Linked DNA regions of Homo sapiens: all the other regions are linked to region 1. Evidence: promoter capture Hi-C in 16 types of primary human blood cells and fetal thymus (Javierre and others, 2016). All regions are on one chromosome and are shown on one strand. Each heading gives the region's core, a stretch centred on a gene start or on the middle of the fragment in contact. The rest is flanking DNA. Distances are from core to core; before and after follow the strand shown. Region 1 holds the start of STK38L (serine/threonine kinase 38 like). Region 2 holds the start of MRPS35 (mitochondrial ribosomal protein S35). Region 3 has its middle 11 kb from the start of ITPR2. Region 4 has its middle 32 kb from the start of ITPR2. Region 5 has its middle 44 kb from the start of INTS13. Region 6 overlaps INTS13 (integrator complex subunit 13). Region 7 overlaps FGFR1OP2 (FGFR1 oncogene partner 2).

The links. The method cuts DNA at HindIII sites, captures the fragments that hold promoters and counts their contacts. A CHiCAGO score of 5 or more calls a contact.
Region 2: a contact is called between the fragment with the promoter of MRPS35 here and the fragment with the promoter of STK38L in region 1, in 4 of 17 cell types (fetal thymus, total CD8 T cells, naive CD8 T cells and 1 more). The highest score is 6.5, in fetal thymus.
Region 3: a contact is called between a fragment that was not itself captured here and the fragment with the promoter of STK38L in region 1, in 10 of 17 cell types (neutrophils, naive CD4 T cells, activated CD4 T cells and 7 more). The highest score is 11.8, in neutrophils.
Region 4: a fragment that was not itself captured here is called in contact with the fragment with the promoter of STK38L in region 1 in 2 of 17 cell types (neutrophils and total CD8 T cells); the score reaches 5.9 in neutrophils.
Region 5: a contact is called between a fragment that was not itself captured here and the fragment with the promoter of STK38L in region 1, in 1 of 17 cell types (neutrophils). The highest score is 6.7, in neutrophils.
Region 6: a contact is called between a fragment that was not itself captured here and the fragment with the promoter of STK38L in region 1, in 3 of 17 cell types (neutrophils, naive CD8 T cells and M2 macrophages). The highest score is 7.2, in neutrophils.
Region 7: a contact is called between a fragment that was not itself captured here and the fragment with the promoter of STK38L in region 1, in 2 of 17 cell types (neutrophils and monocytes). The highest score is 6.0, in neutrophils.

What each region holds. Positions count from the first base shown.
Region 1 is chr12:27,242,538-27,246,631 of GRCh38, reverse strand. It overlaps STK38L (serine/threonine kinase 38 like), which reads right to left and starts at 2,346. Exons shown (of 14, transcript NM_015000.4): 1 at 2,300-2,346. RefSeq lists enhancers at 938-987, 3,576-3,635 and a silencer at 2,278-2,517. The HindIII fragment of the contact is 3,512 bases long and covers 29-3,540 here.
Region 2 is chr12:27,708,643-27,712,736 of GRCh38, reverse strand. MRPS35 (mitochondrial ribosomal protein S35) reads right to left here and starts at 1,905. Exons shown (of 8, transcript NM_021821.4): 1 at 1,782-1,905. The coding sequence starts at 1,893. MRPS35-DT (MRPS35 divergent transcript) reads left to right here and starts at 1,990. Exons shown (of 5, transcript XR_001749448.2): 1 at 1,990-2,074. RefSeq lists enhancers at 1,485-2,274, 2,285-2,364, 2,395-2,474. The HindIII fragment of the contact is 2,856 bases long and covers 1,550-4,094 here.
Region 3 is chr12:26,841,891-26,845,984 of GRCh38, reverse strand. No RefSeq gene overlaps it. Among named protein-coding and RNA genes, the nearest start is that of ITPR2, 11 kb to the right of the region's middle. RefSeq lists a silencer at 615-909. The HindIII fragment of the contact is 5,050 bases long and covers 1-4,094 here.
Region 4 is chr12:26,863,388-26,867,481 of GRCh38, reverse strand. No RefSeq gene overlaps it. Among named protein-coding and RNA genes, the nearest start is that of ITPR2, 32 kb to the right of the region's middle. The HindIII fragment of the contact is 2,252 bases long and covers 586-2,837 here.
Region 5 is chr12:26,891,710-26,895,803 of GRCh38, reverse strand. No RefSeq gene overlaps it. Among named protein-coding and RNA genes, the nearest start is that of INTS13, 44 kb to the left of the region's middle. The HindIII fragment of the contact is 5,632 bases long and covers 1-4,094 here.
Region 6 is chr12:26,909,931-26,914,024 of GRCh38, reverse strand. It overlaps INTS13 (integrator complex subunit 13), which reads left to right. Exons shown (of 17, transcript NM_018164.3): 13 at 1-51; 14 at 338-568; 15 at 2,708-2,847. Among named protein-coding and RNA genes, the nearest start is that of INTS13, 26 kb to the left of the region's middle. The HindIII fragment of the contact is 9,163 bases long and covers 1-4,094 here.
Region 7 is chr12:26,954,359-26,958,452 of GRCh38, reverse strand. It overlaps FGFR1OP2 (FGFR1 oncogene partner 2), which reads right to left. Exons shown (of 7, transcript NM_015633.3): 3 at 1,793-1,910; 4 at 710-852. Among named protein-coding and RNA genes, the nearest start is that of FGFR1OP2, 18 kb to the right of the region's middle. The HindIII fragment of the contact is 1,309 bases long and covers 1,224-2,532 here.

The DNA of each region.
Region 1 (4,094 bases), core at 1,097-3,596:
TTTTTAAAAAAGTTATGTCTTAAAAGCTTGCTTTCATTATTTCATTCAAAAAGACCATGGTGCTTTTAATATAAAAATACAGAAGCATAATTTCTGCATATGTCAAGTCTAACCTAATCATAACTTGCCAATCTGCTGATTTTAATGTAATCCTAAGGATGCTAGACAACAATATGCTTGCTTGATTCACCTGACACTATTTACATAAAATAAAAGCATTTTAACAATACATCGAGATGCAAATCTTTCTGGCTCTGATTTGTGCCCTTTCTCCCTCTTAACAAAAAGTGCCACACACACACAAAAGAGCCTCCAACTTATCCTGGATCACTGGGGAGGCACTTTCTAAGGTGCGTTATCCAATTTCACTAACACAATGATGCTCTCCTTACTTTAAGAGAACAGAACTTTTCTGAAAGCAAACAGCTGAACTGAGTCCATTGCTTTGTTATCATTTTTTAGGAAGTCCAATTTCTCCTTTGTTCTTACAGTGTCCTACCTTTAGAAATCAAGTTTTCAGCATAAAAACTAACAAGGACATCTATTTGTTGGCACAAATCATCTCAGTCTCCATTCTTTGACTTATTTTAAAACAAACTCAAGAGCAAATGGCTAGAGAAAAACTGCTTCTATTTAATGTGTGTTTTCTAAGTCTAATTTTTTCATTCCTAGTGGCAAGGCCTTTCAAAAGAGTACAAAAACTACACCCAACTTTGCTTCTCATTCTAAACACATCACAACCAAATGGGAAACATTATCAGCCATCTTAACAAGGAGAAAACAAAGCTAAGTGAGGTCAAACCAAAACATTTTTTAATTCATTGTACCTACCTATTTTGAGATCAGGATTTTTCAGATGGAAGTAGTTTGATGAACTTATGCAATAAAATTATGTAATATCATAATTTAACATAATATTTTAGACTAACTTCTCTCTCCTCAAATAGTCACAAGGGTGGCTAATTCACATACAATACCTCTCAGCCACTGGGGAGAGAGTATAATAAACTTAATTGTTTTACATATCCTGAGGCACAGAGAGAAAGGCCAATCAAATTCAAAGAGGTTTACAGTACCTTATATACATATATGATTGAGACAAAGAACTTTCAAGAATCTGTACTGAGGAAGCAAAAATGGGCTTAAGTACAATAGGCCCTGCCTTAAAGTAGAGAGACCGGTCAAACGTAAGCCCCAGCGCCAAAAAAGACAAGGTCTCACTCATCAATCCCCATCTTACAATCAAGAGGCAGAACTTAAATCACTTAAAGCTGTTTTTTCAGATTTGAGCAGTAAAATAAGCTAATAGGCCATTTCCGATTAAGTGGCTTCTCTCAAAACTTATCACAAGTTATGTGAAATGGGTAAAAGTGTTGGTTCTGCATTTTATCAAGTGAGAAACAATAGCATCCTACTTTTGGACAAGCCACTACTTCCAGAGCCACTAGCCCTCCCCCCACCTCCCACTTCTTTTTATATCATTCCTCCAAACTTAGAACCCGAAAAGCTATTCCACAAAACAAAAGCAGCACCAGTAAAAGGGGAGGCCACTGGTTTTGAAAATAAAGTTTGTTCTTTTGCTGTCAACCTGGCAACTTTTTAAAGGTGAAACGTGCCCTACTCAATCGGTTATACTCTTTTCTACTCCCACACCAAATAACCACTCGTTCGACCTCGATACTAAAGGTGAAAAAAGGAGTGGGAGAAATGATTTTGAAAGGAAGGGGCTACGGGTGCAATGGTAAAGACAGATTCTAAGACTGGTTTTGAGCACTCCGTGGCTTCTAGGAGCTGGGAGGCTTTCCTGAGTCTGTCTTGAGAAATGTTTGGCAATCTGACGCATCAGTTTTTAGGAACGGTACACAAACAGCCCCCACAATTGAAGAGCCATGCTTCGGATCCTGGCTCTGGGTGACATCGGCTGGAGGGCACGGGACGGGAGCGCTGGGGCTACCCGGAGAGGATCCGCGACATTTGTTATTGTTTGTGAAGCCCAGGCGGGGACCCGGAGCGGAGTGCTCGGGGGCCGGGGAGTGGAAGGAGAAAGGAGCAGAGGACAAAGATTCCTCCCCGGGTGCGAGGCTCCCTCTCTGGACACATGGGGCCAGTATCACCCCGGGGAATAAGAGGGCCAAGGCCGTCGCCGCAGGTTCCCCGGAGACATTTCCAGCCCCAGAATTAGCCCGGCTTTCCCTGGACACCCAAAGACACCTAAAATCTCCTCCTGCTCCTGCTCGCAGAGTTGGGGCTGGCGCGGCGAGCTCGGGCCCTCAGCCGAGCGCTACATCCGCGAACTCACCTGCCTCCGGTCGCGCCCGCGGCCGGCTCAGCCTCCGCACGGACCGCAGCCGGCCGGGCGCCCGTCAGCTCCCTTCTCCCCGCTCCGCCCTCGCCCCGCCCCCGGGAGGTGGGACCCGCGGCCTCGCCGGAATCTCAGGGCGGCCTCCCTGAACTCTCGCGAGCCTTGCCTCCTCGGCTTCTCGGTGGCTGGGTCGGTCCGACTCGCCCTGACGTCATACGCACCACAGCCGGAAGTAGCCTTCTGTCGTCAACGCCCGTCTTCCCGGCCCCACCCATCTCCGCCTGGTGAAGGCCAGACTGGTTTTGAGGGAGTTGACTGAACTGTCGCCACTTCCCCTCTCACCAGCCTCACCTCACTGCCGTTTTTACGCCAAACCTGTTCAGGCCTCTCTTGAGAGTGGCCTAATGTGTTGCGACATTAGTCACATTCTAAATGTCATCCGAATTTTTCAAACAGTGCAATGCAAAGAATGTTAGAAATGGAAAGAGAGAATTCACGCATTTTTCAGATTGGGAAACAGTTGTCAACAAAGATGGATCAGCTAAGTTGCTCAGTCGGTAGCTGTGGGGACTCGAAGCCACCCAGGTTCCTTGACGCTTCCATTTCACCATGAGGGGACTCCAGAGACTGGAGAGGAACCAGGATTTGTAAATGCCACAAAAAATACATTAAAAACCTGTTTGAGTTTTCTTGGAAAATCTAAAATAACTACAGTACTGGCCTGCTTTATCAGTAGGATCTGAGAATTGTGCAGAAGAGCACTCCCCTATAGGATGACCCAAAAGGGACAACTTTGGGAAGGTTGATGCAATTTGCGTCTGGGGACAAAACTGGCCTTTGGGAAAGCCAAATGAGAGAATGACTCCCAATTATTGTTGGCAAGTTTATCCTCAATATGAGTATTGGAGGTCTTATAAAATATTCTTAGCTTTTAGCTTACTGAGACAACGTATGAAGCTGGTACTGTGCTTGCAAAAACTATCACTTAGAAATGCCACCTGTCATCTTTAGGTTTCCCAAGAGCAGGTGACACGAGCAAAACACCTAGGAAAGAAGCATTACCTCATTTCTCTTTCTTACACTGTGCTTTTTCATACATAGCTTAGTAGTGGGAAAAGCTCTAGTTTGGTAATTAGTGTATTTTTGGGGAGATCAGCTCCACTTATATGGTCATTTTGAAACTCAAATGACAGTTGTCATATACAAGCATAGGAGGTTTAATTGTGATCAGACAAGCTTGACAGGCCTATACACCCTTCTCCCTGTACTGCACGCATACACATACCATTCAAATGCTACGATAAGATTGAGAACAGTGTATGGTTTGTTCCACAGCAAATTTATGTCTTCAAATGTGCCATACTAGAGTAATATGAACTAGTATAGAGTAGCAGTCTAGGTTAATATGGGATAGCCTAAGACTTTGACCTCTAGTTCCTAAATTCTCCTAAATTGAGACCATTGTAAACAAATTTCCCTGGGAAGTTGTTGAAAGTACCTCAACTGAAACAAATTAGAGCTATGAACCAGAATTTTGGTGGTCTATGGACCCCTTTTCAAAACAGTGTTCTTAAATGCATAAACTACCTAGGGTTACAAAGGAAATTGATAATGTTAACATACAGTTACCAAAATACTAAAAAGTGAGTTTGTAATATAATTATGTGGTAAGTAGTAGTAGCATCTAAGATGGCTGCCAATGATCCACGCCTTCTAGTATTCCTGCCTTCTGTAATTCCCTTCTCTAGTAACTTAGTTCTTAAAAAGGAAATATAGCAAAAGTGATTAGGAT
Region 2 (4,094 bases), core at 656-3,155, 470 kb before region 1:
CCCCTTGGCAGGGCTTTTGATTTTCTTCTTCCAGTCTTCCCAATTCGTGTACATGGAATCATCATTCATCCAATTGCTCAGAACAAAAATGTAACAGGATTTTTTTGAGACTTGTCCTCAAGCCCCACATCAAATCCATCAGTAAATCCTATGAACTTTACCTTCAAAATATATCGCAAATACAACCACACCTCCTTCTCCACTATTACTTTAATCCAAGTCACCATCACCTCATTTGGATTACTGCAACAGCCTCCAAACAGATCTTTGGCTTCCACTCTTACCCCAGTAAAGCAGCCAGTGATCTTTTAAAAACGTAAATCACATTATATCAGTTCCCTGTTCCAAGCCTTTCAATATAAAACCCAAGCCAAAAATCCAAATGAAATGTCTACAAACTCTTGAGAGATCAGATTATTACTTAACTAACTCTCTGACGTCTTATACTACCACTCTCTCCTCTACTCACACTTAGCTCCTGCCACATTGTCCTTCTTCCCGTTCCTTGATCACACCCCTCAGATTGTTCTCAACTTTTGGCCTTTGCACTTATAGTTCCCCATACCCCAAAGGCTCTTTCCCCATATCTCTGCATGGCTTGGGGCCCTGTTCAAATGTCACTTCCTCAGAAAGATCTTTCCTGACCATCCTGTGGCCACTACTCCCCCCAAATCCATCATTCTCAATACTCTACTTTATTTTTCTTCAAAGCATTAAACCCTATCTGACATCTTATTTAGTTGTTTGGTTGTTTATACTATTGACTTCCCCACCTTGCCGTATCTCCGGTGAGTGTCTAGAACACTGCATGGTATACAATAGGAGTTAAGTATTCCAAGAATTTAAGAATGAAAATTTAAAAATAGACAATTATTAGACCTATGAAGAGCCAGTATGAAGGATTAATGTATTTATAGTTTATCTGAAAACAATGGGAAACCATTTGTAGATCTTGAACATGAGAGCAGCAAGACAAGATCTAAATTTTGAAAACCTCATTTGGCTGTTTTGAGAATTCAATGTAGGAGAGCAAGAGGGGAAACAGGAAACGGAAAAAAAACTTGTAGAAATGAGATGGTCACCTGAACTAGATAGTTGGTAGTATGAGGAGAGTAAATTAGAGATATAACAGGAAGTAGCACAGGTAGGATCCGCCTATTGATTAGACTCACGCCAGCTCCTCCTCAACGCTCCCGTCATTCTAGCCACACTTCTATCACAGCGCCTCTCACCCTACATAGCACTTCTCCGCTAATAAATCTGTATTTTCCACTAGAGTCCTCCGGGGTAAGCACGCTATCAAGCATCCCTACAATCTCTGTTAAATGGAGGTCATCAACGCCTGTTGAATGAAGGCCGCCCATTTGGTGGCCTGGAATTCAGAGCAGCAATTTGTCCTAGCACAGCCGTATGACTCTCTTAATGTTTGGGGAAATCCATGGTTCAACAGCGCCGATGCCCGATAAACAACACAGCACCAGTAACCTGTGCCAGGGGCTGTGGACGGGGGCAACACAGGAGCAGGTCACGGGGAAGGGGGATGTAAGCTTTCTGAGCAAACTCCCAGAGCACCCAGGGCAGAAACAGGCGGCTAGAAGCCGGGCAACGCGGGTGCAGAGCACAGACCCACGTCCATGGTTTTCCTACCAGACGGGCCTGGCAGCGGACGCACTGGCCTCCCCCGGGCGGCGCTGGCTCAGCCACCGCGGCACCCTTCATGAGGCCGGTATTCCGCTCTTGCACCTCCCCCAAAGCCCAGAGAAGACGAGACAGACACTCACGCAGGCTAGGTGTCGGGACCGGAGTGGCCGAGTAGACGGCAGTGGAGAATGCACGCAGAGTCCTTGCCCTCGACTGCAGAGACAGCCATGCTGGGAGCGCGGCGGCCGCCATGGCTGCGAGGACGGCAAGCCGGAGGGGACAAGCGGCGTTCAGTGTCAGGGGCGGGCCTGGGGCCGCTAAGCGCAGGCTCCCTGGGCTGGCACCGCCCTAGGCTGGAGAAAGAGGAAACACGTTGGTCTGCGCACTCAGAGCCGAGTCAAATGTGCAGGAAGATTCCCCCAAACTGAAAGAAGTAATGAAAAGAAAACAAAAAAAATCCTTAAAAATCGAGTGAATCAGTTCGTAGAGAATTGCAGATAAAGACCGTAGGGATAGGGGTTGCGGCTCACTGAAGGCGGGCGTGCTCTGGGTGGAACCTCAGTTGATCCGAGAGTCAGGCGGTCTACCCGAGGGACTCTTGTTATTTATAATTGTTGCTTTTCTACATTTACTTGGATTAAAGAAGTCTTCAACTAATGCCAGTAATATGCGCTAAGGGGAGAGAAGCAGTATCCCGAGCCAGAGTGCTTGGGTTTCAAACTTGACTTCACCACTTCTGGGATGTATGATCTCAGACAAGTTAGCATAGACAAATATTTGTGTACAGCGTTGGCATACAGTGAACACCGCGTGTACGTAGCCTATAACTTTTAGCTATATATGGTTAGCTTGTTGTTAGATCAGCTTAGAATTACAGAAAGTCAGAACTCATCAGGACCTAGAAAATAAACTTTTAATGAACACTCTTAAATTTTCTACGGTAGGATGAATTAACATACAAGCCTTAATAAAACAATTCTCGGCCGGACGCGGTGGCTCGCGCCTGTAATCCCAGCACTTTGGGATCCCGAGGCGGGTGGATCACCTGAGGTCAGGAGTTTGGGACCAGCCTGACCAACATGGAGAAACCTGGTCTCTACTAAAAATACAAAATTAGCCGGGTGTGGTGGCACATGCCTGTAATCCCAGCTACTCGAGAGAAGAATCGCATGAACCCGGGAGGCAGAGGTTGCGATGAGCCGAGATCGCGCCATTGCACTCCAGCCTGGGCAATAAAAGCAAAACTCCGCCTCAAAAATAAAATAAAATAAAATAAATTCTCTATTTTCTCTTTATTTTAAAAATTATTTTAATTAATTAATTAATTATTATTATTTTTGAGACAGAGTCTTGCTCTGTTGCTAGGCTGGAATGTGGTAGCAGGACCATGGCCCACTGCAGCCTTGACCTCCCAGGCTCAAGTGATCCTCCTACCTCAGCCTTTCAAGTAGCTGAGGCTACAGGCACGCACCACCACACCCAGCTAATTAAAAAAAAAATTGTTTTTCCAGAGATGAGGTCTCACAGTGTTGCCAGGGCTGGTCTCAAACTCTTGGGTTCAAGCGATCCTCCTGCCTTGGCCTCCCAAAAAAGTGATAGGACTACAGGCGTGAGCTACTGCACCTGGCCTATTTTTTCTATTTTTAAGTTTTTTGTAGAGTTGGGGGTCTTGCTATGTTGTCCAGGCTGGTCCCAAACTCTTGGCTTCATGTGATCCTCCTGCCTTGGCCTCCCAAAATGTCGGGATTACAGGCATGGGTCTGGCCTATTTCCCTATTTTGTCTCAAAGTGACAAAATTATAACAGTAAAAACAACTAAAAATAAACAAAACCGATTCTTGGTAAGCATACAACCAGTAGAGCAGAGGTATGCAGGTGTCCAAGAATATTCTAGCTGTGAACATTCAGTGCGCCATGGACATCAATCAGTAAGGTATGGGAGGGGGACAAATAGCATGAGATGGACAAGTATTTGTAATATTCATCATCTTCATCTTTTCTGGACTTTTACCATCCTGTTATTGTTCCAAAATAGAAGCATGATGTATGAGTTTCCTAGGGGATTGGAACAAAGTACCGTAAACTGGGTGACTTAAAACAACAGAAATTTCCTCTCTCACAATCCTGGAGTCTGGAAAGTCCAAAATCCAGGTGTCGGCAGGGTTGGTTCCTTCTGGAGGTTCTGAGGGAGAATCTGTTCCATGCCTCCCTCCTAGCTTCTAATGGTTGCTGGCACTCCTTGGCTGGTAGACACATCACATCACATCACCTTCTGCCCCCATATTCCAATGGAGTTCTCTCCTCTCCTCGGACTATTTTTAAGATCAAAATCATGGCCTTTTTAATCAGATGGAGGTGAGGTTTGAATCCAGGCTCTGGTTCTTTATGATTTTGGGCAAATCTACCTTATCTTTCTGAGTTTCAGTTTCAAGGAAAATGACAGCAATAATATT
Region 3 (4,094 bases), core at 960-3,459, 400 kb after region 1:
AGGAAAAATGAATTGCTAAAACGCCACGAAGCTGTATGTGCTGTCCTTATGATTTCATTACAAAGAACATGATAATCATTTTCTTAAAAATATGCACCTATAGGAAAAGATCAATTAAAACACCGAGAGGGAATTTCCCATCATGTCTTCTGCGCAGCGGAAACTAATGATTCCCTCTTTTACTGCTCTGCCCTCACTCTACTGTGCCATTATCAGATTTTGCTGGAAAAAGCCTTCCTTATAATTTTGGGGGGAATTTTTTTTTCTTAAAAGCAAATGCCATTTATTGTGGAACAGTTTATATTTTTCTTTAAAAAATAGATCCTCTCTAAAAGAAGAAAGGAGAAAAAATTACCATAGTTTTATTATAGTAGTATTTTTTGTTGATTATTGTTTTTTCCCTAGTGATTCAATCTTGCTTTTAAAGTCATCATATAGGCAGGGCGAGATGGCTCACACCTTTAATCCCAGCACTTTGGGAGGCTGAGGTGGGTGGATCACCTGAGGTCAGGAGCTCGAGACCAGCCTGGCTAACGTGAAACCCTGTCTGTCTCTACTAAAAATACAAAAATTAGCTGGGCGTGGTGGTGGGTGCCTGTAATCCCAGCTACTCAGGAGGCTGAGTATATGACATATATTAAGAATCCCTAGTATCAGAGACACAGGCAATTATGGAACAACTCTAGGAGAAAATATCCCGGACAACTGGGAATGGAGAAATTGTGGCCTCCAGGGGGCGGAGGTTGCAGTGAGTCAAGACCGTGCCACTGCACTCCAGCCGGGGCGACGAGCAAAACTTCGTTTCAAAAAAATAAAAAAAAATAAAAAAATAAAAATAAAGTCATCATATAAATCATTTTACATATTATTACATATTCTTAGTAAGAATTGCTTACTATACTCCCTGGCAGCTGCTACAGTGTAATCACTAATTTGCTACTGTTCAATATTTATTTTCTTCTCCATGCTTATTATTATTACTATGATAAACATAATTGTGAATAAAGCACTTTTCATACATAGGATTATTTCTTTAGGTTATATTCCATATGTCCACATTGCCATTAAAATGGTTGTACAAAATATGATATTGGCTGTTTGACTAACAGCATTGGTTACAATAACTAAAAACTTTTATTTTGCTAATCTAATGCATGAGAAATGATATCTCACTATTATATTACTTTTATTTTTTTGCCTATAACCAACCTTTTGCCTATAATATTTGTTGCAAACTATTCCCACTTTGTTGTTTTACTTTCAGTTGAGTTTTTTGTTACATTTTAAAAATAGAAGAAAAAATACATATATAATTTACCATCTTTACCATTTTAAGTATGCAGTTCAGTGGTAGTAAACACATTTATATCGCTTTTTGTTCCCTTCACTCACCCTTTCCCCTTCCCTTACTGGTGTTAGAATTTTTACATAAAAATTTAAAGTTGTAAGAATTAAACTTACTTCATAATTTGCTTTATGTTTTTATATTAATGCATATGTATTTCTAAGCATAGGTATCCCCTGTTCTTAAGATGGTAAATATTCAATTCCCTTTATTTTGGTGAATTTTGAATTCAGATGAATACATTAAGTCATTAAATATAAAATTAATTAATTTATTTTTGAGACAAGGTCTCACTGTGTCACCCAGGCTGGAGTGCAGTGGCACCATCATGTCTCACTGAAGCCTCAAACTCCTGAGCTAAAGAGATCTTCCTGTCTCAGCCTCTGAGTAACTGGGACTATGGATGTAGTTTTTAAAATTTTTTAAATTAAATTTTTTTTTTTTTAAGATGGGGTCTGGCTATGTTGCCTAGACTGGTCTCAAACTCCTGACCTCAAGTGATCCTTCCACCTTGGCCTCCCAAAGTGCTGGGGTTACAGGCGTGAGTCACTGCACCTGGCCCTGGATTTATTTTTAAGATACGTGATAGCTTAAAACTGCTAAACTAGTATTCTCCATGTAAGTAAATAACATCATTTCTTGTATAATCTCATGCTTTCCCATTGATTTCTTATACTTTCTTTTTTATATATTGAGTTCTTACAAATAATCAGGACTGTAGACTGTGGTACTGTGCCTATAGGTACAAAAAACAGGTACAAAACAGCTTCCTTCACATCTAGGTGTTCACTCTGAAACAAAAAGTACAACTCAGAGTTCTTGCCTTAAACAAATTGATGCTAATTAGTTGGGTAATCAGGATGTATACATCCGAAATAATGCACTAAAGTAGACCCACATTACTGCATTTCAAACTAGATTCATAAATGAGAGAAAACAAAGGTAAACTTGGGGGAATCACAGGGGTGAGAAAAAGGACTCCAGGAAGTTTTCCCTGGATTTATTCTCCCTGGTTTTGCCCAACCAAAGTATTATGTCTTCCCAAAAATCAGGAACCACAAGCATGGCAGCATTCTCTGGTGTTAGATGGCAGTTTTCTCTGTGGGTTTTATCCGCTACCTTCTTTGAAGAGATAAAAAGCTGTCAGCTTGTGGAAAGCAGAGTTCTCATGTGACAATTGTGGGTGGTTTTATAGCACCAGGCTGGAAATTTAGCCATTTTGTTTCTTTTGTCTCAAAATTTGCTTTTCCCTGATGTCTGAAACGTGTCTGTTAAAAAAATTGATTTCTTTCTCTTACACATATTTTTTAAAAAATTCAAATTCCTTGAAAAAGAAAAATTTAATAATTATCAAGAATTTTGCCCTGGCTCAGTGTGGCTCATGCTTGTAATCCCAGAACTTTGGGAGGCAGAGGCGGGTAGATCACTTGAGGCCAGGAGTGCAAGACCAGCCTGACCAACATGCAATACCTGGTCTCTACTAAAAATACAAAAAATAGCTGGGTATGGTGGTGGGGGCCTGTAATCCCAGCTATTCCAGAGGCTGAGGCAGGAGAATCACTTTAACCTGGGAGGCGGAGGTTGCAGTGAGCTGAGATGGCACCACTACCCTCCAGCCTAGGCGACAGAGCAAGACTCATCTTAAAACAAAAAACAAAAAACAAAAACAAAAAACAACAAAAAAAGAATTCGCTACAGTTGATGGAAGGGATTGATCTGTAAATGGCAGAGCTGGTGGCCCAGAGGCTCTGGAGACAGCTCTGGTGTGGGCTCAGTCACTGGCATGTCTTATTGCATAGACAGAAACACCTCTGATGCTTGGTTTTCTTATGACATTTCATGCTGCTTTTCTCACAGATAATCATAATCATAATAATAGCTAATATTTATTGAAGTTGGATGTGGTGGTTTATGCCTTGTAGTCCTAGCTCCTTGAGAGGCTGAAGCCAAAGGATTGCTTGACCCTGGAATTCTGGGATGCAGTGAGCTATGACTGCACCACTGCACTTCAGCCTGGATGACAGAGTGAGATCCTCTCTCTAAAAAACAGCAAAACAAAACAAAAAACATGAAAGGTTATTAAGCACTTTATGCCAGGCACCACATCAAGCCCCTTAAATGTAACTTCTAATTTAAACCTCACAAAGACCACATGAGATAGATACCATTATTGTCCTCATTTTACAGATAAGTAAAACGAGGCCCCAGAGGTTATGTATTTGCATAAAGCCTGGTAGAGAGTAAATTGTGAATTAGTAACTCATCCCAGGTCTATGCAATACTTGTGTCCTTAACTATTGTGGCATACAGGTATGGGATTCATTTAAGTGCCTGATAAATGCTTTCTGACATCTACATGGGAACATTAAATTGTATTTGGGGAAGAATCACTGCAAATTGAAGTAGGCAAGATTTTAGATATGCATACTTTTTTTTGAGACAGGGTCTTACTCTGCCGTCCAGTCTGGAGCACAGAGGCGTGATTTTGGCTCACTGCAATCTCTGTCTCCCGGGTTCACGCCTCAGCCTCCTGAGTAGCTGGGACTATAGGCATGCACCACCACGCCTGGCTAATTTTTGTATTTTTGGTGGAGATGGGGTTTCGCCATGCAGCCCAGGTTGGTCTCCTGGGCTCAAGCAATCCGCCTACTTTGGCCTCCCAGAGAACTGGAATTACAGGTGTGAACCACAGTGACTGGCTCATTTTTTTCTTAAAACTCCCCATTCTTTTCTGTTATAGAGACTGGGC
Region 4 (4,094 bases), core at 462-2,961, 380 kb after region 1:
AGATCCTAGTGATAGAGAAAAAGGCTTTATTCATCTGTTTAAAAGGTCCCTGTAAATAGTAGGCCCTAAACAGAAATTACTCATGATAGACACAGGTGACATTGGTAGGGCTTGGCCAGTTCAGTCAGTTGATAACTAAGATGGTCAAGTTTATGAAACAGAAAGATCACAAACTAGCAAGTGTTGGAAAACTGCTGGTAAGACGGGGAGAATAATTTTGTTTCAAGTTAAGAAAAACTGACACTTGTGGTTTCCGTGTGAGAGGAGTCAGTACTCAGTTTGAGCAACTTCTGCAAAAAAAAAAAAAAAGGTACCCTCCTGGGTTGAATCCAATTGAGGCAAGCCAACTGATAAAAAATACAAGCATTGTGTGGAAAGGAGATACTAAAAAACACTCTTTTGTGAAAAAGATACAAACTTCAATCAAGATAAATAAAACCATTGGAATAAGCTCTTCTTATATTAAAGAAGTAAAGTCTTAAGATAGTCTTTTATGGTTTATTATTTTATTTCTAATTAAGTTTTATTGTAATAAAACTTTATTTCTAAATAAAATCTTAATTAGAAATTAATGCTTAGCAAGCTTACTAAAGTACACTTTTTTTCCTCCTTTTTGAGACAGGGTCTTGCTCAGTTTCCCAAGCTGGAGTGCAATGGTATGAACATAGCTCACTGCAGCCTCAACCTCCCAGGCTCAAACAATCCTCCCACTCCGGCCTCCTGAGTAGCTGGGACCATAGGCGTGTGCCACCCCACCTGGCTAATTAAAATTTTTTTTTTTTTTTATATAGAGACAGGAGCCTCACTAAGTTGCCCAGGCTGGTTTCAAACTCCTGGGCTCAAGCAGTCCTACCACCTCAGCCTACCAAAGTGTTGGAATTACAGATATCAGCCACCACACCCAGCTAAAGTACACCTTTAATGTTAGGCAGACAACAGTTTCTATGAAGAAAAAGGGTGAGAGAGCTGCATGTGGTGGCTCATGCCTGTAATCCCAGCTACTGGGGAGGCTGAAGTGGGAGGGTTGCTGGAGTCCAGGAATTTGAGGTTGCAGTGAGCTATGATAGTGCCACTGCACTCCAGCCTGGGCAACAGAGTGAGACCTTGTCTTTAAAAAAATAAAAAGAAAAAGGGTGAACTTGGGAAGGAGAGTAGGATAGAGGAGATAGAAAAAAGAGATTAAAAGTATGCATTGTCTCTACTCTCTTACCTTGGGAGGTAAGGAAAAAAAACATGTCTGTTGGGGTCTGACAATACATTATCACCATTTACATTTTAGTTGTCCCTGAGTTCTGGTGGAAAGGCAAAGTTATCCTTAATGGGGGGATTACTTCTAAATTGCAGGCTGTAATTTTACAACAGTTCTCCCCTGTAGACTCATGTGCCTGCCAGAAAAGTAGGGCTTCCGTGAGGTATTCACCCAATTGCCCTTCTCTGGAATCTGGGGCCCACCTTTGGGAACTACATGTCTCCTGGCATCAATTCATCCTCAACAGGTAGCTACCCTCCCACCCCTGCAGCCCACACTCTTTCCTGTACTTTTCTTGATCTAATTGCCTGGACCCTCCCTGCCCTAGATAACTGGTGTCTCTTAGAGTGTCTCCAAATGTAAGAAACACACCTAGGCAGACAATTTTAAAGTAAGGGAGGTTTAGATTAGATTTTTAAAAAACAAGTATTTTTTAAAATTAATATTTGAATTTTTTGATTTAATATTAATTTCTCCTTGATCTCTGCAAATCATGAAATGCATGAAGGTAACTTCAACCAAGCCAGTGTGATGAGAAACTGACATCTTTACCAGAGAAGAAAATGTTGAAAGTAGTTTCAGGGCTGTCATATACCGAGTCATATCTTTTTAACAAAAATATTGTAATTATATTGTGAGAGTCATTGTATTTTATCTCATTTCATAATCTTATTGCTCTTACTCTCCCTCTCATCTCCAAAATCTCTCAAAAAATAACAAGTACTTTCATTGAATCATTACTATATGCCAGAAGCAATGTAACTTCTTCACATGCATTGACTCATTAAATAATCATAAAAATCCTATGAGATAATAACCCTTTTCTTTCCAATTTATGGATGATAGAGGCTGGGTGTGGTGGCTCACACCTGTAATCCCAGCACTTTGGGAGTCCGAGGTGGGAGGATCACTTGAGCTCAGGAGTTTGAGACCAGCCTGGGCAAAATAGTGAGACCCTGTCTCTACAAAAAAAAATGTTTTAAAAATTAGCCAGACGTGGTGGTGCACACCTATAGTCCCAGCTACCCAGGAGGCTGAGGTGGGAGGGTCATTTGAACCCAGGAGTTTGAGGCTGCAGTGAGCTGTGATTGCCCTGCTGCACTCCAGCCTAGGTGACAGAGTAAGACTCTGTCAAAAAAAAAAAAAAAAATATATATATATATATATATATATATATATTTATATATATGTGTGGTATAGTTATATATTATATATAAATATATATAGAGAGAGATGATGGAAATAAGGCTCAGAGATGTTAACATTCCCAATAATAGACAAACTAGTAAGAGGAGAACAGGGATTAGATCCCAGAGGGTTATGCTGCTGGGCCCAAACACCCAACCACTAACTTCAACTGTCTCTGCAGATTTTTGATGAGTTACACTGCAGAAATGGTCAGCCTACTTCTCATCTTTGTTCTGATTCATGCTGCTTATAAACATGGCTGGCAACCTAAGGCTTCATACACATGTCCTCTTCACTCCTGCCCTGTGTCCTAATTTCCTGTCATCTGTGTTCCTTATGTTCTCCTTGAGGTCCTCTCATGTGATGCCATAGTACTCTGAGCACTATGTCCAGGGAAGCTTACTTCTCAGCTGGTTGGTGGATGCACTGCTGATCATCCTCCCTGTCTAGATATCTGAATCTTTAGGAAATCTCATGTCAACCAGAGATAGAGGAAAATGGGAAGACTGGGTCTCCTGGATCTGATTATTCCCTGTAGATACTGGAAAAGGGACTAGCCTTCTAAGAAGAGCCACTTTGGATTTCTTATGAAGCTGTGGCCCTCAAAATTCTTGAACACTACCGTAAGAAATAGATTTCTGTTGCAACTTACAACACATATATTTACATACAGAGAATTGAAAATAACATGTCATAAAACAACACTTACTTACTATGTAGAATGTGCTCTGAAAGTTTCTATTCTGTTCTATTCTTTCTTTAAAAAAAATACTGGTCGAAATCCAGTAAATTGACTTCACAATTCACTGATGAGTCATGATTGGCAGCTTAAAAACACCATCATAGGCCAGGTGCGGTGGTTCATGCCTGTAATCCCAGTACTTTGGGAGGCCAAGGCAGGAGGATCACCTGAGGTCAGGAGTTCGAGACCAGCCTGGCCAACATGGTGAAACCCCATCTCTACAAAAAATACAAAAATTAGCCAGGTGTAGTGGCACATGCCTGTAATCCCAGCTACTCGGGAGGCTGAGGCAGCAGAATCACTTGAACCTGGGTGGGGAAGGTTGCAGTGAGCCAAGACTGTGCCACTGCACTCCAGCCTAGGCAACAGAGTGAGACTCTGTCTCAAACAAACCAAAAAAAAAAAAAAAAAAGAAACCCAAAAAACACAGCCATAAATAATTATTTCTAACTCAACGTATGATGGTTTTTCATGAATAATAGATTTAGCGCAAAATATGAATTCATTTATTACATTTGAAAAGCTTTTTCAAATGATTAGTGCTTTCCTCTGTTCCATGTACTTGCTAGAGATCAGCATGGCCATCAGGGGGAGCAGCACGTGGGAAAGATGTTAATTAAGATTAGACATAAAGGCTGAGGTTGTGTTCTTATGTGAACACGTGATTATGACCTTTACTTACATGTCAGCTAAGGTTACCCCTACAGTACTGCTATAATCCTTTAAAACATGAAGATTTGGTTCCTTACATCTTGGGGTCAATAGGAACAATTTGCATATGGTCTGGGTTTTGGAGAATTGGTGTTTATTGGGTTAGGTATTATAATAGTATTGTGGTTATGGGTGATATTTAATGATGTCTGTAATTTAACTTAAAGATGAGGACAGGCAGGTAGAGAAGCAGCACAATAGCTT
Region 5 (4,094 bases), core at 670-3,169, 350 kb after region 1:
AAGTGAGTTGAGTTGCCATCTTCCTGGTCATAAAATGTGTCAGGAGGGATCGGGAAATGAAATGTGTGCCCAACAGTTGCTGTTATCAATTGGATTGAATTAACAACTGTTGGAAATGTGTTGGGTTGACCTAGAAGAAGCAAACAAGAAATAAATTTCAACAAATACTACTCTTTATTTAAATGCTTAAGGTTGTCTTGATGGTTAACTTGTTTCCTCCCTTAGTTTTGCATAGGGCAGTAGGAACACTTCTATTGATCTCCTCTCTGTCTCCCTCTCTCTGTCTCTCTCTCTCTATATATATATACACACACACAAATATATATATATACAAAGATATATATATACACACAAAGATGTATATATACACACACATATACACAAAGATATTAGTATTACTAACTAATCAAATCTGGTTTAGGGGACTTCAGAAAAACAATATTTTGGCAAACAGCCTAAATTCTTAAACTGATTTTTTTGTTTTTTGGTTGAAAGTTGAACAGGAAAAGTTTTTTGTTTTTTTTTTTGAGATGGAGTCTCGCTCTGTCACCCAGGCTGGAGTGCAGTGGCATGATCTCGGTCACTGCAAGCTCTGCCTCCCGAGTTCACGCCATTCTCCTGCCTCAGCCTCCCGAGTAGTTGGGACTACAGGTGCCCGCCACCACGCCCAGCTAATTTTTTTTTTTTTTTTTTGTATTTTTAGTAGAGACGGGGTTTCACCGTGTTAGCCAGGATGGTCTCGATCTCCTGACCTCGTGATCTGCCCACCTCGGCCTCCCAAAGTGCTGGGATTACAGGCGTGAGCCACCGCACCCGGCCCAGGAAAAGTTTTAAGATCAGTACATATAAGTTAGATAATGGTACACGTAAGTTACATAATTGAACAGAATCATAGCAACAAACTAGTACTCCAATTTCAATTAACATTTAAATCTCAAACTACAAAACATTTCAAGCTCTGCATAGATACATTTTGGTGTTTTCTGAGGAAGATGAGATAACATCACAAAAATGGGGCTATGGTGCAATATAACAAAGGCAGGTGGCTTTAGATATTGTGGGGAGCATTAAGTTGGAAAGAAGAGTATCACGCTACTGAAAAAAACTCAATGAATCAAGAAGATAGAGTAGTGCAGTCACTTGATAAATAGACTATTTGAAAGTGACATCTAAGTACTGTTGCATATTTAATGGGATTGATTAACAATGTAAGTCGTAACTACTAGGGAGATCTGTTTCTACTGAATTTCAAACAGCATCAAGGTCCATCAGCCTTACCATTCCATGATGATAGAATTGCTTACCTGGGTGTGACGTGGTCTCAGGTTTCTGAGATTCAGAATGCAGAGCACATGTTCTCAGCATCTATGTTACTTGAAGCCAGTCATATTTAGTGACAGGCAAACTGGTTGTACCTTGTCTAATATTTCTGTAAACTTTGTAGTTACTCCAAAGGAACCCCTTTGTTGTTGTTGTTGTTTTGTTTTTGTTTTTTGAGACAGGGTCTCACTCTGTTGCCCAGGCTGGAGTGCAGTGGCACAGTCATGGCTCACTGCAGCCTCAACCTCCCAGGCTCAAGTGATCCTCCCCCTCAGCCTCCTGAGTAGTTGGGACTACAGTCATGCGCCACTACGCCTGCTATTTTTTTTAATTTTTAAATTTTTGTTTGTTTTTGTAGAGACAGGCTCTCACTATGTTGCCCAGGCTGGTCGCAGTTTCATGGGCTCAAGCAATCTTCCTGCCTCAGCCTCCCAAAGTGCTAGGATTCAGGTGTGTGCCACCACACCTGGCCCTTAATTTAGACATTTAATTTAAACAAGGAAATCTCCCCCAAATTAAAGATCAATGAAAATTTCCATGGAAATTACCATACAAGTATGTTTTGATTTGAAACAAATTCTAAAGCAATCACTCTGATATGAGTTAGCTAGTTCAGAGAAGAGAAGATGAGCAGAGATGATAGCTTGCATTTAATGAACCATGTGCCAGGCACTGTGCTAAGTACATACTTCATTTTATCTTCACAACAAATATATTGGAATAATTATCCTCAGTTTATAAATGATAGAAGTAATATACTAATGTGAATACCTAATATTACACATATAGTAAATTATACAGCTAGATTTCAAACCCGTTTCACTATAGATACTGAGTTATTAATCATCATACTGCCTGTTTGCAGTATATCATGAGATAAATAAACTAAATGAAAGAGGATGGTTTTAACTTTAGTTATAGAGTTTGAATCTGTTAGCAAGCATTTTTCTAACTCTGGTGGTCTGTAAGACTGCAACAGGGCCAGGCACGGTGGCTCACGCCATAATCCCAGCACTCTGGGAGGCCGAGGCAGATGGATCACCTGAGGTCAGGAGTTTGAGACCACCCTGGCCAACATGGTGAAACCCCATCTCTACTAATAATACAAAAAAAATTAGCCAGGCTTGGTGGTGGATGCCTGTAATTCCAGCTACTCGGGAAGCTGAGGCAGGAGAATTGTTTGAACCCGGGAGGCAGAGGTTGCAGTGAGCCAAGATCACACCATTGCACTCCAGCCTGGGCAACAAGAGCGAAACTCCGTCTCAAAAATAAAATAAAGACTGCAACAGATGAATGATTTAGGAATAATAATAACTGGACAGAGTAATGGCTTGAAGCTCCTTCCAGGTTTGTGAGTCTTTGATCAATCTATTGTAAACACAATACACATTAAATAATGTGTATAAGGCATAAGATGGGTACTGTATTTTGTTATTGACTTTTCTTTTTTTTTTTTTTGAGATGGAGTTTCGCACTTGTTGCCCAGGTTAGAGTGCAATGGCGCGATCTCAGCTCACTGCAACCTCTGCCTCCCGGGTTCAAGCGATTCTCTTGCCTGATCCTCCGGAGTAGCTGGGATTACAGGCACCTGCCACCACGCCTGGCTAATTTTTTGTACTTTTAGTAGAGACGGGGTTTCACCATGTTGGCCGGGCTGGTCTCAAACTCCTGACCTCAGGTGATCCTCCTGCCTTGGCCTCCCAGAGTGCTGGGATTACAGGTATGAAACACCACACCCGGCCTGTTGTTGACTTTTCTTACATGATATATTCTTAAAGTTTTTTCTTCCTAAAAACAACTCTATTCCTTGAAAAAGTTGGAAAATATAGACAAATGTAGAGAAGAAAATCAAGCACATGTAATTTCATCACACGGTTACCACTAGGTTACTCTGTTTTAATTATTTAGTTGGTTGCTGCTTGTTAGTATAAATATTCTCTGAAAAATATGGCAAAGAGAAAGCTCAACAACTCCCACAATCTTACCTTGTACCTTATTAAAGTCAGAGATAGTCCTGTATCTTGCTGTTAATACGTTTTTGGAGGTATGTGGGTAACTTATAAACATGTCAGTAGAATCCAAGTTAAGTACTGTATTGCCTGGCAAAATCTGGCTAGTTCTTGAGAATCCACTGAAAGCTAAATGTTCTGTGCCTCAGAACCAGTCACTAAGAATATGCATCATAGTTTTTGAGCCCATATTTTCAGGTAACTCAAATGCATTTGAAAATTTAGACACCTCAGAAAGGGACAGTTCAGATAAGTCATGTAATTGAGTAAATGATGGGGTCTCCTTAGAATATGACTGAGTTTTGATAATCACATCACCATCACACAATGAGCCTTCATCTACGAGTTTGCTGATGAAACAATCAGTTTCCATGGGCAAAAGAGTTGAGTCAGATGTACTATTCCATACAAATTTTGTATTTATGCTCATGCCAGGAGCTGAAATTATTTCTGTAGGAATGATGAATGAATGAATCTGTTGAGAAACTTCAGGAGTGTCAGATGTGTGATTATGCTCATGAAGGTGCTGTTGACTTAGCTGATTTGACAGGAGTACTTGACTGAACTCAAGGGGAAAATGGGAGGCTGCCAGTGTCTCCCTTGCTGATGCTGTAGGTGTCAAGAGACTGTCAGGTGAATGTACAGATTTTTCCCAGTCGACTGGAACAGAGCCACTCCATTTGCTGAGAAATGTTGTCATTGAAGACAGTACTTCTGAAGGCATGGCTATATCCTGCATTACTGAGGGCTTAAGAAAATGAGAGT
Region 6 (4,094 bases), core at 586-3,085, 330 kb after region 1:
TGATCCTCTACCTATTTCCACAGTTGGTACAAGAGGAAAGGGCCCTAAAAGGTACATTTTTTTTTCTTTCTTACTTTATAGATCACATTTACTTGATACATATTGTTTCTCAAGATAACTTATTCCATATGTAAATTCTATTTGAGGACATGTTTATATATATATTTGAGATGAAATAATACAAAATCATAGAAATGGATATATTGTAGCCTAGAATTTCACTATTAAGTACCAAGTAAGAGGAAGGAAGTCCACATTTCATTATTTGTTTTTACTTTACCACTAGAAAGTGACACTTCAATATTATTTAAAGAGTATTTCCAAATCTTTGCTGCAGAGATGAACAATACCGTATCATGTGGAATGAATTAGAAACCCTTGTCAGAGCCCATATCAACAACTCAGAGAAACATCAAAGAGTCTTGGAATGTCTGATGGCATGCAGGAGCAAACCCCCAGAAGAGGAAGAACGAAAGAAACGAGGAAGAAAGAGGGAAGACAAAGAGGACAAGTCAGAGAAAGCAGTGAAAGATTATGAACAGGAAAAGTCTTGGCAAGACTCAGAGAGGTGACTTCCTGGCATTGATATAGCACCATGGTGCCTTTTGTTATATCACATTCTGCATAGAACACTTTCATACATTCAAACCTGATTTAATAGTAGTTCATTTAATACATGTTTATTCATTTTCATTACTGTAATTTTATCATTCTTAAAATCTAGAGGATCTTTCTTGGGCACAAAAAAGTATGAATTTTTACTGTTGGGGCAAAGTTAGTGTTAGTTTTTCCTAATTAACTTCTGAAAATCATAATGCATGATGTTTGGTATCAGTATGTGCTTTATGTGTTGTGAACTTCACAGACATAATTTTATTCCTCTGTTCACTAAATATTTACTGAATGCTTATGATGTGCCAGGCATTTGGCACAAGATCCCTACCCTTGAAGAACATACAGTGTGATGCTAGAGACAGACAAATTAGTGATTGCAGGCTGGGTGCAGTGGTTCACACCTGTAATCCCAGCACTTTGGGAGGCCGAGGCGGGTGGATCACTTGAGGTCAGGAGTTTGAGACCAGCCTGGCCAACATGGCAAAATCCTGTCTCTACTTAAAAAAATACAAAAATCAGCTGGGTATGGGGGTGCATGCCTGTAATCTCAGCTACTCAAGGGGCTGAGGCACGAGAATCACGTGAACCTGGGAGGCAGAGGTTGCTGTGAGCCGAGATTCCTCCACTGCACTCCAGCCTGGGCAATAGAGTAAGACTTTGTCTCAAAAAAAAAAAAAAGTGATTGCAGCAAAGTGTGGAAGGTGCTATTATAAAAATAGGCATAGGATGTCCTTGGAAGCACAGAAGAAGGGCATACAGTCTATTCTGAAAATGTTTCTTAATAGTATACTCTTTTCCTTTAGTTTGTGATTTATATTATGATGTCAGCGTTAAATCTGAAAAACATAAAAGTAATAAAGGCTTATAAATAGAAATAGCGTATCCTCTGGCTATATCCTCTATCCACTTGCCAGAAATCAGACCAACACCAGGTCACTTTTTTTAAAATTAATTAATTTTTATTTATTTTTTTGAGACAGAGTCTCGCTCTATCACCCAGGCTGGAATGCAGTGGCATGATCTCGACTCACTGCAGCCTCTGCCTCCTGGGTTCAAGTGATTCTCATGCCTTAGCCTCTCAGGTAGCTGGGATTATAGGTATGTGCCACCATGCCTGGCCAATTTTTTGTATTTGTAGTAGAGATGGAGTTTCACCATGTTGCCCAGGCTGGTCTCGATCTCCTGACCTCAGGCGATCTGCCCATCTTGGTCTCCCAAAGTGCTTGGGATTACAGGCATGAGCCACTGCGACTGACGAAAAACACATCTTTTTATGATGGAAAATTTCAAACATATGTAGCAAAAGAACAGATAGTTACTCATCATCTACCTTCAATGATTAACAATTCATGGCAGATCTCATTTCATATATATCTTCATCCACTACCTTTACCACTACACCCATAGGAATATTTTGAAGCTAATTCTGGAAATCCTGTAATTGTATCCATTAATAATAGAATACTTTTATTCTCTTTGACTTTAGAAGCTCATGTTTTCCTTAGGGCTGCTGAGCTTCTGAAACACTACTGGCTCACTGTAAGAGGGAAAAAGTACTATCATTTAGGTCCCACTGAGCTTCAAGTACACTCTTGTATATTTTGCAAGTGTTTTTGTTCTCTGATGAAACTCTAAAAGTTTAGAGTTAAGTTTCTGATTTGCAGAACATAAATACATCTACACAATACATAGACTAGAGAATAAATGGGAATAAACTTATTAATCTTATTTGTAATTTGAAATTCAGTGTTATTTTGTTCCTATCTTTAAAAATCAGAATTGTGCAATTTCTTCTGAAGATCACATCATTTCCTACCTTTTAAATTTTAATTTAAGTATCTTCTTTTTTTTTATATTTTACAGCTAATTCCTGAATCATTGCATTATTATTATGAAGGAAAAGGGAAACTTGTATTTAATTCATTAATTTCTGTTACCTGGTTTTAGATTGAGATTTTTGATTAGTCCCTAGGTTTATTTTATGAGATTAGCCATCTTTTATAAAGGTTGATATGCAAAGTTAGTTTAATTATTAGACCATTAGACTTCTAAAAATTTGAACTTTACATTTCATTATTTGTCCCTCTAAAAGATTAAAAGGAATCTTAGAGCGTGGAAAAGAAGAATTGGCTGAAGCTGAGATTATAAAAGATTCGCCTGATTCCCCAGAACCTCCAAACAAAAAACCCCTTGTTGAAATGGATGAAACTCCACAAGTGGAAAAATCAAAAGGTAAGGTACAGCTGTGGTAACTAGGTTTATAAAAAGTTTTCCAGGCCGGGTGTGGTGGCTTACCCCTGTAATCCCAGCACTTTGGGAGGCTGAGGCAAGCAGATCACCTGAGGTCAGGAATTCAAGACCAGCCTGGCCAGCATGGTGAAACCCCACCTCTAATAAAAATACAAAATTAGGCGGGCATGGTGACACACACCTGTAATCCCAGCTACTTGGGAGGCTGAGGCTAGAGAGTCGCTTGCACCTGGGAGGCGGAGGTTGCAGTGAGCCAAGATCGCACCATTGCACTTCAGCCTGGGCGACAGAGCAAGACTCTGTTTCAGAAAAAAAAAAAATTTTCCAATGAAGCTCTGTTTTGTACAGTGTTATTTAATATTGTTGTGTATGTGAGGAAGAGTTCTTAAGTATTTGTGGGTGTTGTTTAGGACATTCTCTGTTTACAACCTGTATTAGTCCAGTCTTATGCTGCTAATAAAGATAAAAATACCCAAGACTGGGTAATTTTTAAAGGAAAGAGGTTTAATTGACTCACAGTTCCAGCATGGCTGGGAGGCCTCAGGAAACTTACAGGCATGGCAGAAGGAGAAGCAAACATGTCCTTCTTCACATGGCAGCAGCCAGGGGAAGGGCAGAGCAAAGGGAGAGGAAGCCCCTTATAAAACTATCAGATCTAGTGAGAACTCACTCACTATCACGAGAACAGCATGGAAATTTGGGTGGGGACACAGCCAAACCGTATCACAGCCTTAGAGAATACAGGCAGTAAATATATTTGTCAGTGTTAAAAACAAAAACAAGTAGTGTTATACTTTCATTAATGAAGCCTTTGGAAAATAAGCATATAAAGTTTGTGTTTTAAGAAATTTTAAATATGTAAACTTGAATCTGTTTATGTTCCTGATACTATAGTAAGAGCTGAGATATTGAATACAAACTCTTTTGACCCTAAACTCTTACGAAACCTAGAAATATGTAATATCACTCATTTATTGCTATATTAAAATGTGTTTGAGTTTCAGTGTAGTTATTATTATAAACAATATTTTCACTGTAAAGCCTCTTAATCTCTTATAGGCTAAAAAGTTTAGTTTCCTCTTGAAGGAATTCTAGGCACCAAGGATATGATTTGGGATTGGCAGCTCCTGAAATCGTTCTAGGCTTTAGTTATCTTGAAGGCAAACTAGATTTAGTCTTTTTAGGATACATGTGTAATGGTATGCCGTCATTAGACTACCTGATGTCCT
Region 7 (4,094 bases), core at 629-3,128, 290 kb after region 1:
AAAAGGTTTCCATTATTTTTTGTTTTTGCAAGAGAAGTCAATACACAAATTTATTAGAAAAAATGTTTCTTAAAAAAATTTCTGTTTTTTAAGAGACAGGGTCTCACTCGGTTGTCTAGATGGGAGTGCAATGGCATGATCGTAGCTCAATGTAACCTCAAACTCCTGAGCTGAAGTGGTCTATCCACCTCAGCCTCCTGAGAAGCTAGGACTGCAGGCATGTGCTACCACACCCGGCTAATTTTTTTACTTTTTGAAGAGATGGAGTCATGCTATGTTGCCCAGGCTGGTCTTGAACTTCTGGCCTCAAGTGATCCTCCTGCCTTGGCCTCCCAAAGTGCTGGGATTATAGGCGTAAGCCACCATGCCCAGCCCTTTAAGAAATATTTCTTAAAAGTATATAGCCCTACAAAAATAATGTTGAAGAGACCAGACTTACCTTTATATCCAAAATAAAATTTATTTTTCAACGTACAAATTAAAGTTTCTAAGAAACAGTGAGAGTTTATAAATCAAACAGAAAATGATATATAACAAGAAATGGAAAAATAAGAAAAAGGAGAAAATGTCAATTAAAAAGATGAAACATTCAACATCATGTTAAAATGCCATTACTAGATACCTGTGATTTTTTTCAAAAAAAATCTGAACACAGAATAATCAATCGTCTCTCTTTTCCATTTCAGGTCACATTTATAGAATGGATTACCTTGGAGTGCTGCTCTTTTAACTTCATTATTATACCCGGATCATCTTTTTTGCTAGCCATTAGCAATCTAAACATTTGTTCTCGGTACTTGCTCATTATAAGTTCCAAGGCCGACTGATGTTCTTCCAGAGATGTACGTAATTCTATCAAGAATAATATTGTATTTTATTCCAACTTGAGTTAAAAGTACACAAAATATTCTCTTCCACTAAGCAACTTATGAACGGGACATTTTAAAAAGAAAACACAATGCACAAAAATCTAGCCATATAACAATAAGAGACACCAAATGAAGTCCCGTATTAGTTTTTTGAATATTTTAAGCTTGTTTCTTGAGAATCATTTCAACAAAGATGTACTAAACAGCAATTAATATCGGCCAAGGCTCCCTCTATATTAAGGGCCACAGACCTCAAGAGTCTAGTAGAGAAAACAAGCATGTGGTAGGTGGCAGAGTGGAGTGTTAAGTCAAATAGATTTAAGAGATGTCTATGGGAAGAAACTGGTGGAAGCTTTGTAGAAGTACAGTGTGAGTTCCCTCAGTTGAAAAGTGAAGGAATGGACCTTCTAAGCAGGTAGGCATGAAAACAGATGACGTGTTTAGGAAGTGATTGGTGTTGGCAAGAGCAAAGAGTTCACAGTGAAGAAAGCTGTGGGAAGAAGATTTAAAAAAAAGGCTGGGAAATGATTTTTAGGGACCCTGTAAAAGGTAATAAGTATATAATGAAAGTTCTTAGGCAAAAGAATTACATGATCAGACTGATTTTTGAAATATCAATCTGATGGTTATGTTGAAGACAGATTGGAAGGGGGAAGAGAGACTGGAATCAGGGAGATCAGTTTGGACATTTCAGGCAAGAGACTGAGCATCTAATCTGGGGGCCAATGCAGTGGGACTGCAGAGAATGAAGCTGGGTTATTTCATAGCTAACAACAGCAGTGCTAACTGGATATTAAGGGTGAGAATCTAAGAGGATGTCAACCAGGCAGATGTTCATATGTGGGACAGGATAAAGAGCAATAAATACGATTTAGGAATATAGACTAGAAATGGGATTAATGTCAAAAAGTAACGTATCTTACCTTTGTTTTCTTGTTGCAACTCTCTGATTTGTCTGTTTTCTTGCTGGATTCCCATAACTAACGTGGACCGTGGCCGATGTCTCGCGACTTCATTAAGTTCTTGAATTTCTTCCTGATACTAATGGGGGAGAAAAACATGTGGGATGAAAATACCTGCAAATATATATATATATATATATATGATATATAAATATAAATATATCTGAAATATACATATAAAAAATCTGATAAGAGCTTAGTATCCAGAATATATAAAGAACACTTACAACTCAACAATAAAATGAAAATAACCCCATTTTTAAAAGTGGCAAAGGATTTGAATAAACATTTATCTAAAGAAGATATACAAATGGCCAATAAGCACATGAAAAGATACTTAATTAACCTAACTAGTCATTAGGAGAATGCAATTCAATATATCCCACGAGGATGACTGTAATGAAAAAGACAATAACAATTGTTGGAGAGGATGTGAAGAAACTGCAACCTTCCATACATTGTTGATGGAATGTAAAATGATGTAGTTCAGGGGTGTCCAATCTTTTGGCTTCCCTGGGCACATCGGAAGAAGAATTATCACGCTGCACATAAAATACACTAATGCTAACGATAGCTGATGAGCTTTTTTTTAAAAAAAAAAAATCTCATAATGTTTTAAGAAAGTTTGTGAATTTGTGCTGGGCCGCAATCAAAGCCATCCTGGGCCATATGCAGCCAGCAAGTCACAGGTCGGACAAGCTTGGCATAGCTGCTTTGGGAAACAATGTGGCAGATCCTCAAAAAATTTTAACAGAGTTATTATATGACCCATCCATTCTACTTCTACATATATACCCAAGAAAACTGAAAACATATGTCCACACAGAAACTTGTACACAAATATTCATAGCAGCATATTCTTACCAGCCAAAAAAGTAAAATAATCCAAATGCCTATCAGCTGATGAATGGATAAGCACAATGTGCTGTATCCTTACAATGCAATATTATTTGGCAATAAACAGGAATGAAGTACTGATACATGCTATAACATAGATGAACCTTAAAAACATTATGTTAAGAAGCCAATCACAAAAAGCCGCATATTTTATCATTCCATTTATATGAAATGTCCAGAATAGGCAAATTCAAAGAGATAGAAATATTAGTGGTTGCCAGAGACTGAGGAAAGGGGAAACTAGAGAGAGACCACTGATGGATGTAAGGTTTTGTGGTGATGAAAATGTTCTGGAATCAGGTAGTGGTTATACTGCATAACCTGCAAATGTGTACTAAAATCCAATGAACTGTACCCTTCAAAAAAGTAAATTTTATGGTATGTGAATATCTTAATAGAACATGTACAAAAGAAATGCAAAAAGATTTTCCATTAAGAAAATGAGAATCTTATTTTAAAATTGCACTTATTTATTTTCAAGGCATTCTCATGAGACACTTAGTAACATATTCATTATAACACTCCTGGTTCTTAACTTCAGATGTCAAACTCCTTTTTTAACAACTCAATACCAGATATATGTTCACTGAAGTGCCTGAGTCTAGCTGGACAGTTGGTTAGGGATGCAGGTAAATCTGTTTAGGGCAACACAGTTGTAAAACCAAATAACTAAACTTGCTCCACTATTTCCAGTAGCTTTGTTAAAAATACTATCCCAGAATTGCTTCCTTTTACAAAATAGATGAGGAGATTTGGCTGTGAATATACATTTTCCCCCTCTGATTTCCATCATAATGTCAGAGATTTTATAATTTTCTTAAATGACTTGAAAATTTTTATCAGAAGAAGGTTAAAATAGTGTCTAAACTCCGTGGCCCATGGGAATATTCTGTTATACAATAGTAAAAATAGCAAGAAGAAAGCCCTTATGTATTCTTTAATTGGTAGCACTGAATGAAAAATAAGGTAGCAAGTATGGGTACAATAACTGCACAGAGTATAAATCACATATTACCTTGCATCATTTTCAAAAGCTATTTTGTTGTTAAACAGCATCACCTAAGTACTTTTATAAAGAAAAATATGAACATTTCTACATTATACAAGACAGAACAAAATGTGTACCAACATTAGTAAAAGGTATTATCTGGTCTTTGTCAAATGTTTCTAGACCTAACAAATTCATTTATTTTCTAAACTCAAATGTGCAACTCTGTCAGCAAAATAAGTGATCAAATCTAGGGTTTAGAAATATATGTCTAGGTATATCACCTGAACACGACAAAATTAAAGTAAACCTGAAACACACAAGTCAAGCTACTTTAAAATTTTAGAGAATGTTGAAAAAAATTAGATACTAATTAGC